2 separate regions of the Homo sapiens genome follow, and region 2 is linked to region 1. Evidence: promoter capture Hi-C in human tissues and cell types (Jung and others, 2019). All regions are on one chromosome and are shown on one strand. The core of a region is centred on a gene start or on the middle of the fragment in contact, and the rest is flanking DNA. Distances in the headings are between cores, read along the strand shown.

Region 1 (3,897 bases), core at 1-2,500:
GGCAAACAGATATTTTGAGCTGTTATCAGAACAGCAGATAAATCCACTAAACGTCTCCCCTCCATTTCCCAGCGTTAAGCCATTCTCCCTCCTCAGCTTCCCAAGTAGTTTGGGACTAAAGGGGCGTGCCACCACACCGGGCTAATTTTGTATTTTTTAGTACAGACAAGGTGTCGCCATGTTGCCCAGGCTGGTCTCCAACTCTTGACTCGTGAACTCAAGCGATCCTCGTGCCTCAGCTTCCCAAACTGTTGGGATTACAGGCGTGAGCCACGTGCCGGGCCATGTCTGTGCTTCCGAGGGTGGGAAAGATAAAGCTCACCATGGCTACGCTGATGGCTTCCTCTCCTACACATCTCACCCACAAGGGCGGGGTCCTCAACTAAGCTTAGGACTGCCTATCATTCTGCAAATGACCCACTCTACAGACATGCTGCAGCAGGGAAACCCCGCCACTGGGCAGTTCCTCATGCTGAGGAGGAGACGCCCGTCACTCCATCTCATCTGTAAAGTGAAGACTTTTAAGGCTGCCCTAATATTCATCATAATCTAACAACGAAGACCTTACCAAGGGGCGGAAAAAAAGAATAAAATACTGTGAGCGAAGGAAACAACAAAGGAATAACATTTAAAGCAATGTGCCAGGTCCTTCACACATTAACATCATTGTGTGAGGTATCATTAACATCATTTTACAAATAAAGAAACAGGGGACTTGCAGGGGGAAAGCTGCACAAAGTCACTGAACAAAGTAAGTGACACAGCAAGAATCCAAGTCAAAATCTGGAGCTGGAAAGTGAGTGGGGAGACGAAGAACCGCCTGGGCACCTTTGTGCAGGGCGGGGCTGGAGGAGGTCACGCAACTTGAAAACACCCAAGGGAGTTGGATCCTACCACCGCGGCCCACACCGTGGAGAAATACACGTCCATCAGCCTCTGTCAAGCAGGACGCGGCGGGTGCCGGCGCGGCCGGGTGGCCTGGTGCTTTCTGGGCCTCGCCCGCCACCCCGGAAGCCTGGAATCCCGGGAGTGCGCCCGGCCGCCCGGCCACGCGATCCCGGACCCACGCGGACGCCCGCCTCAGGGAAGGCCGCGCACGGCGGGGACGCGGGGCGGAGGGGCTGAGCCGGCCGAGCCACCGCCGGCGCCGCTCCAAAGCCTCCCCCGCGGCCCGAACTCGAGCTGCAGCGCGCGGCCGCGCCACTTACAGGTCATGACTCTGCAGACAAGCACCACCTGCGGCGCGGACTGAGCGCTGGAGATCCGGCGGACCGCGGCGTCGCTACGGTGGGGCGGGGACCGCGTCAGAGGCCCCGCCCCACCCCTCCTCCTGGCCCCGGCCGGGAGGAGAGAAGGGTCTGCGTTCATTCCAGTGCGCCTGTAACACCAGGACGGACCAACGAGAAATGGTTAATTGCAACACAGTCCGGAAAAAGCATGCCTCGAAAGGCAAAGGGCAAAAGGGAACGGCCTAAGTCGAGGTGGTGTGCTGGTGAATGTCTTAACAACCAGACTTTTCAGGGAGGAAAGCCCTGATTTGTAGCGTTTGCTGATTCTCCGCAAAAGGACTGAACTTCTAGCTGGTTGAATCACCTCTGTGGCCAGGTTAACACCGTATGCTGATGGGCTTGAGCTATTTGAACAAGTCTCTGTGACGGGGACGGAATGACCCTGGTTGGTTTAGGCACGCGAGACGTCTGTAAAATCTGACTACAAGGCTGCTAGGCCAACGGGAAAGATGCTGAGGGTTCAACGCCATGCCCTCAACAAGTCAGTCCTCGAATACATTGTCATCTCTTTGCTAATATCCTTTTTTGTTTGTTTGTTTTAGACAGGGTCTCACTCTGTCATCCAGTCAGGAGTGCAGTGCAGCAGTCTCAGCCCATTGCAGCCTCAACCTCCCGGCTCAAGCGATCCTCCGTCCTCAGCCTCCCAAGTAGCTGGGACTACAGGCACACACCACCACACCTAGCTATTTCTTTTCCTTTTTTCTTTTTCTTTCTTTCTTTCTTTTTTTTTTTTTTTTAAGTTTTTTACTTTTAATAGAGGTGGGGCCTTGCTATTTTGCCCAGGCTGGTCTCAAACTCCTGAGCTCAAGACCCTACTGCCTTAGCCTCCCAAAGTGCTGGAATTATAGGCGTGAGCTGCTGCGCCCAGCCTATAGACTATGATTTTTGCATTTTTATTTATTAGATTGCTTTTTAATTTTCGTGTTTTGTGTTTTTGTGCCTTGTCAGACTTGTGGAACAAAAATCCAAAACTTAACCACCTTTTGGAATGCCCCAGAATAGTTTATACTGAAACAGATCTTGGTTTGTAAAAGAACACTATAAAAACATTTTGGGGGCAACTAGGGAGATTTAAATATGAACGAGATATTTGATGCTTTTCTGAATTATTTTGTGTGCTATAGTGTTGTGCTTGTGACAATTCTTTACTCTTAGAAAATGAGGAAGTATTAGGGATGAACCATCAGAATGTTTGACTTGAAAATCGTCAGCAAAAAGAAAACACATAAGATAAAGCAAATATGGCAAAATGTTAATTATTAAATCTAGGAGGAGGACACAGCTGTTCATGGTACTAGATTAAAACTTTGTAGAAGTTTAAAATTTTAAGCTTTCATAAAAAAAAATTGGGGGGAAATACATAGCAGTTATGGTCTTTCTGCAGCTTAAGAGACTATCTGGACTTGGCTTTGTAGCAGGAAGATCTTTAAAAACCTTTTCATTTCTGCTATGCTTATTAACCTATGAGGTTTCAGGGTCAACCTGTGGTCACTTACAACCTGTTAAAAAAATTCATCTAGATTTCCAAATTTATTGGACTAACATTGTAACTAATAGTGGTCCTAAACCTGGCTGGAAATGTTATTTGAAGTGCTTGTTCAAAATGCAAATTATTTCATTTTTTTAGAAGTGGATTCTTACAGTGTTGCCCAGGCTGGTCTCAAACTCCTAGGCTCAAGTGATCCTCCCACTTTGGCTTCAAAAAGTGCTGGCCTTATAGGCATGAGCCATGGCATCCAGGTGGAGATGCCCAGTAGGCAACCGGACCAAAGCCTCAAGCTCAGAAGATGTCTGGGCTGGAAATTGACTTGGGAGTCACCAGCAGTTTTAACTAAGAGGAAGCTCTGAATTTGGATGAGAACACACAAGCGGAGTATGAAAGGCACACGCAAAAGAAGAAGGGCCTGTGGAGCCTGGGAAGGAGCCATTAGAGGAGAAGGACCAGGCCGGGCGCCACTGCCTGGTGGAGGAACAGCTGTGTCCTCCTCCTAGATTTAATAATTAACATAATCCCAGCACTTCAGGAGGTGGAGGCAGGTGGATCAAGAGGTCAGGAGCTCGAGACCAGCCTGACCAGCATGGTGAAACCCCGTCTCTACTAAAAATGCAAAAATTAGCTGGGCGTGGTGGCACACACCTGTAATCCCAGCTACTCAGGAGGCTGAGACAGCAGAATCACTTGAACCTGGGAGGCGAATGTTGCGGTGAGCCGAGATTGTGCCACTGCACACCAGCCTGGGTGACAGAGCCAGACTCCATTAAAAAAAAAAAGAGAGAGAGAGAAGCAGGACCAGGAGAAGGCCATCAAGACCAAAAGCCTATGGGTACTGTGTCCCTCTGTCACATGCAGGGAAACTGCTGACTTGGGCACTAGGGGTGTTCCTAGAAAAGGAAAAGCTAAATGAAAGTGCGCTTTTTAAACCTTTCTTTAGAACTTTCTGGGCACAATGGAAAAGCTAGTCACTGGGTTCTGGTTCTGGCTCTGACACTGATTAGATGTTAATACCTAGGGCAAATCACCTCACCCTCAGGACCTTTTCCTCACCTGTATGTGAAAGGATTTAGAGGCAAAGGAAGAAGAATCTGGCTGAAGGGTGAAGTTTGTGCA
Region 2 (3,897 bases), core at 813-3,312, 1.0 Mb before region 1:
GGAATTTGCAGTCCCGGCTGTGCCTCCCCCACTGCAGCCGGCCTCTTTGCAGCAGCTGCTCCAGATGGGCTGCTGCTGCTGCCATCAGTGGAAAGCAAAGGGGGAGCAGGCACATCACATGGTGAAAGCAGGAGCAAGAGAAAGAGTGGGGAGGCTGCTACACACTCTTAACCAGATGTAGCAAGAACTCACTCACTTATCATGAAGACGGCACCAAGCCCTGAAGGATCTGCTCCCATGACCTAAACACCTCTCACCAGGCCTCACCTCTAGCATGGGGATATAGTTCACTATGAGATTTGGTCAGGGACAATTATCCAAACTTAATCATTTTTAGTGAATATGTTTTAAAAAATTTCTTATATGAGTTTCTGTTAGTATTTGTCCTTATTAGGGTGCTCATCTCTTATTCATTTTAAAAACTCTCATTAAAGGTATTGACTCTTTGTAATATGTATTGTAAATTGTTTTTCAAGTTTGCTATACTACACTTTCTTTATAGTATCTTTGATATAGAAGACTTTTAGTTTATTTTGCAAAATATGTTAGTGTTTAATTCCTGTGTTTTGGCTTATCCCTGGCAAGACCTCTTTAACCCCAAATATGGAGATAAGTCAGCCAGCTACTGTTCTCATTTGTACTGCTTTAGATGAGCTATCAATTCCTGAACAAGTCTGTAGATTACTTTCCTAATTGAAGTTCTGATTCTTTTTTTGCCCTTCCATTATAAATATTTATTAAGAACTCCCTTTTAGGTCAGACTGAGCAGAATGTTTTAGTATTTTTAAATTTTACTTCCCATTGGGATTTTTAGAAATACTTTATAACTGCTAATGTAAAGAAGTCTAATTTAATTTCCAAATAATATATACCGAATTGTATTAGAAAATAGGCTTGGGTGTGGTGACTCATACCTGTAATCTCAGTGCTTTGGGAGGCCAAGATAGGAGGATGGCTTGAGGTCAGGAGTTCAAGATCAGCCTGGGAAGCATAGCAAGACCCTGTCTCTACAAAAAACTTTTAAAAAAAGAATTAGTCAGGTGCAGTACTGTGTGCCTGTAGTCCTATCTACTAAGAAAGCTGAAGCTGGAAGGTTGCTTGAGCCCAGGAGTTAGAGGTTACAATGAGCGATGATCAAGCCACTGCACTCCAGCATGGGTGACAGAGTGAGACCCTGTACCTAAAAATAAAAAAAAGAAGAAAAATATTTCATAAAATTATGTTTTACAAAAGTAATAAAGGTTTTATTGTAGCTAGCCACTCAGCAGGGATTGGTAATTAGCCTTGAGTGAAAGGGATCAAATTGCTATTTTAAATTGCAAGACTCTAATATAGACTTCCAACAGAGGGAGCCCAAAGCTTTTAAATGGAAGTGGAGGAGGTTTCATTTTTATTAATGTATTCCAGCTCTGTCATAGTTTCCTATATTCATGTCAGTTGATTTTCTTTTTAAGCTTTCCTTTGGTAATTTGGTAATGACAATAATCCACATAAACACTAAAGAAGATACTCTATTTTGAGATCATTTTCCCCTGTTAACTTAAAATTTCTCTTCTATGTTTTATGTCATAAATTTTCTTCTGACTAGCAATTTGAAAAACACTGATACAAATAGTGCATATATCCTAAGTTCAACTCCTTTATGCTAGAAACATTAGTCAGTTTTGAATAAAATTACTAATAATGATACTCATTTGCACGGTTAACTCTTGAACATTTGCATTATATGGTTATCACTCTTTTCAAAATAATATTTCATTATTATCTATATGTAATTTATGTAAACATTTAAACTTTTTCCTAATTTGAACAATAATGCATATTTATATTAAGAGATATATAGAAAAGTATGAAATTGATATTACCCATAATCCATTCCTCAATAATAAGCATTGATAATATTTTGATATGCTTTCATCTAAATATTTTTCTGGATTAAATGATTATAATCATGAAAAATAGTGTTATTTTTATTCATTTCACACTATCCTCTTTTGATATTAATCTTTACTTTAGGCCTATGAGATAGATAGGAGAGCAGTTAATATTTCTATTTTATAAATGTGGAAACTTTTTGAGGTTCAAAGAGATTAAGTGGCAGAGGTAGAACTATAACACAGGTCTAATATATATGAGATGCATTTAAGTTAAAAAACATAATGTTAAAATAAACACCCAAATGTTCACCTTCTATTAAAAAATAGACTATTATCAGCATCACCGAAGCCTTCTGTGTTCCCCACTTTGCCCATTCTGTCCCATTCCCATGCATTCGCCTTAGAATTAACCACTTTTCTGAATTTTAAGTTTTATATAATTGTGAACTTTAGAAAAATGATTCAGGTTACTGAACAATATGTATTACATGGCATGCATTTTTTTTGCCTAACATTTTTGTGAGATTCATTCATGTTGATGCATAGAGCTAGAGATCATCCAGTTTTACTTATGTATTTATTGTATTAATATTAAAAATAGATCTACCTACTTTTTATTGATGGAGTTTGGATTGTATCCAGTTTTTTTTCTCTCATAAACAATGCTCCTTTGGACATTTTCATTTTATATGTGTTGCCAGTAAATAGTATGTATCTGGATACTTCTCTTTTTACATTCAGTCTACATTTATTTTTAACTATAAGGCATAGTCTGTTTATATTTTATACTACTATTTTTCTTTATGCTTTTTATTTGGTCTGCTTGACTTTTTTTCCTTTCTTGTATTTTTTTTTTTTTTAGAGATAGGTCTTGCTATGTTGCCCAGGCTGGAGTGCAGTGGCTATTTACAGGCATGATTATAGTGCACTACAGCCTTGAACTCCTGGCCTCAAGTCAGCCTTCGAAGTAGCACACTATAGGTGTGCACCACTGTGCCCCACCCATTCTTGTATTTTAAAAATTAGTTATGTTTTGTTTTGTGTGTGTGTGTGGGGGGGGGGGCGGTGGTTTGCTTTACGTTCTAGAAGATTTAGACTCTTTCTATTTTTAAATAGTTTTCTATAAATTATAATATACTTGATAGACCTATCAAAGTCCAAAGTTAATTAGTATCTGTGTTCTCATTTTGAATAATAGGGACTTTAATCTATTTTAAGTACATTCACATTATTGTACAACCATTACCACCATTCATTTTCAGAACTTTTTTCATTTTTACCAAACTGAAACTCTGTATCTATGAAACAGGAACTCCTCATTCCTCTCTCCCCCTAAACCCTGACAGCCACCATTCTACTTTCAGTTTCTATGATTTATTTCATGACCCTAAGTACCTTAAATAAGTGGAATCACAGTATTTGTCCTTTGCTAACTGACTTATCTCGCTTAGCATAGTGTCTTAAAAGTTCATCTATGTTGCAGCATGTGTCAGAATGTTCTTCCTTTTTAAGGCTGACTATATTCCATTTTATGTATCAACTAAATTTTGTTCTATTCATCTGTTGATAGATAGTGGTGTTGCTTCTACATTTTGGCTATTGTGTGTAATGCCATTATGAACATGGGTGTTCAGTGTGTGTTTGTATCTCTCCTTTAAGTTCTTTTGGGTATATATCCAGAAGTAGAAGTGCTGGATCATATGGCAATCTATTTTTAGCTTTTTGAGGAAACATCATACTATTATTCATAGTGGCTGCACCATGTTACATTGCCACCAGCAGTGCACAAGGGTTCCAGTTACTCCATATCTCGCCAATACTTGTTTTCGTTTTTTTGATAATAACCATCCTAATGCATGTGAGGTGGAATCTCATTGTGATTTTGATTTTCATTTTCCTAATGAATAGTGATATTGAACATCTTTTCGTGTTGTTGGCCATTTATATGTCTTCTTTAGAGAAATGTTTATTCAAGTACTTTGCCTGCTTTTGAATTGGATTTTTTTTGTAAGTTGTAGGA

Evidence for each region. The method cuts DNA at HindIII sites, captures the fragments that hold promoters and counts their contacts. A contact is called where the count stands out against the background at its distance.
Region 2: a fragment that was not itself captured here is called in contact with the fragment with the promoter of NIT2 in region 1 in 1 of the 25 tissues and cell types used here (hippocampus).

Annotation. Positions count from the first base shown.
Region 1 is chr3:100,332,110-100,336,006 of GRCh38, reverse strand. It overlaps NIT2 (nitrilase family member 2), which reads right to left and starts at 1,250. Exons shown (of 10, transcript NM_020202.5): 1 at 1,209-1,250. The coding sequence starts at 1,215. RefSeq lists silencers at 228-522, 921-1,250 and enhancers at 491-570, 691-750, 771-820, 914-1,482. The HindIII fragment of the contact is 4,697 bases long and covers 1-3,801 here.
Region 2 is chr3:101,379,479-101,383,375 of GRCh38, reverse strand. The region is part of intron 6 of SENP7 (SUMO specific peptidase 7); the gene reads left to right. Among named protein-coding and RNA genes, the nearest start is that of IMPG2, 61 kb to the right of the region's middle. The HindIII fragment of the contact is 3,862 bases long and covers 132-3,897 here.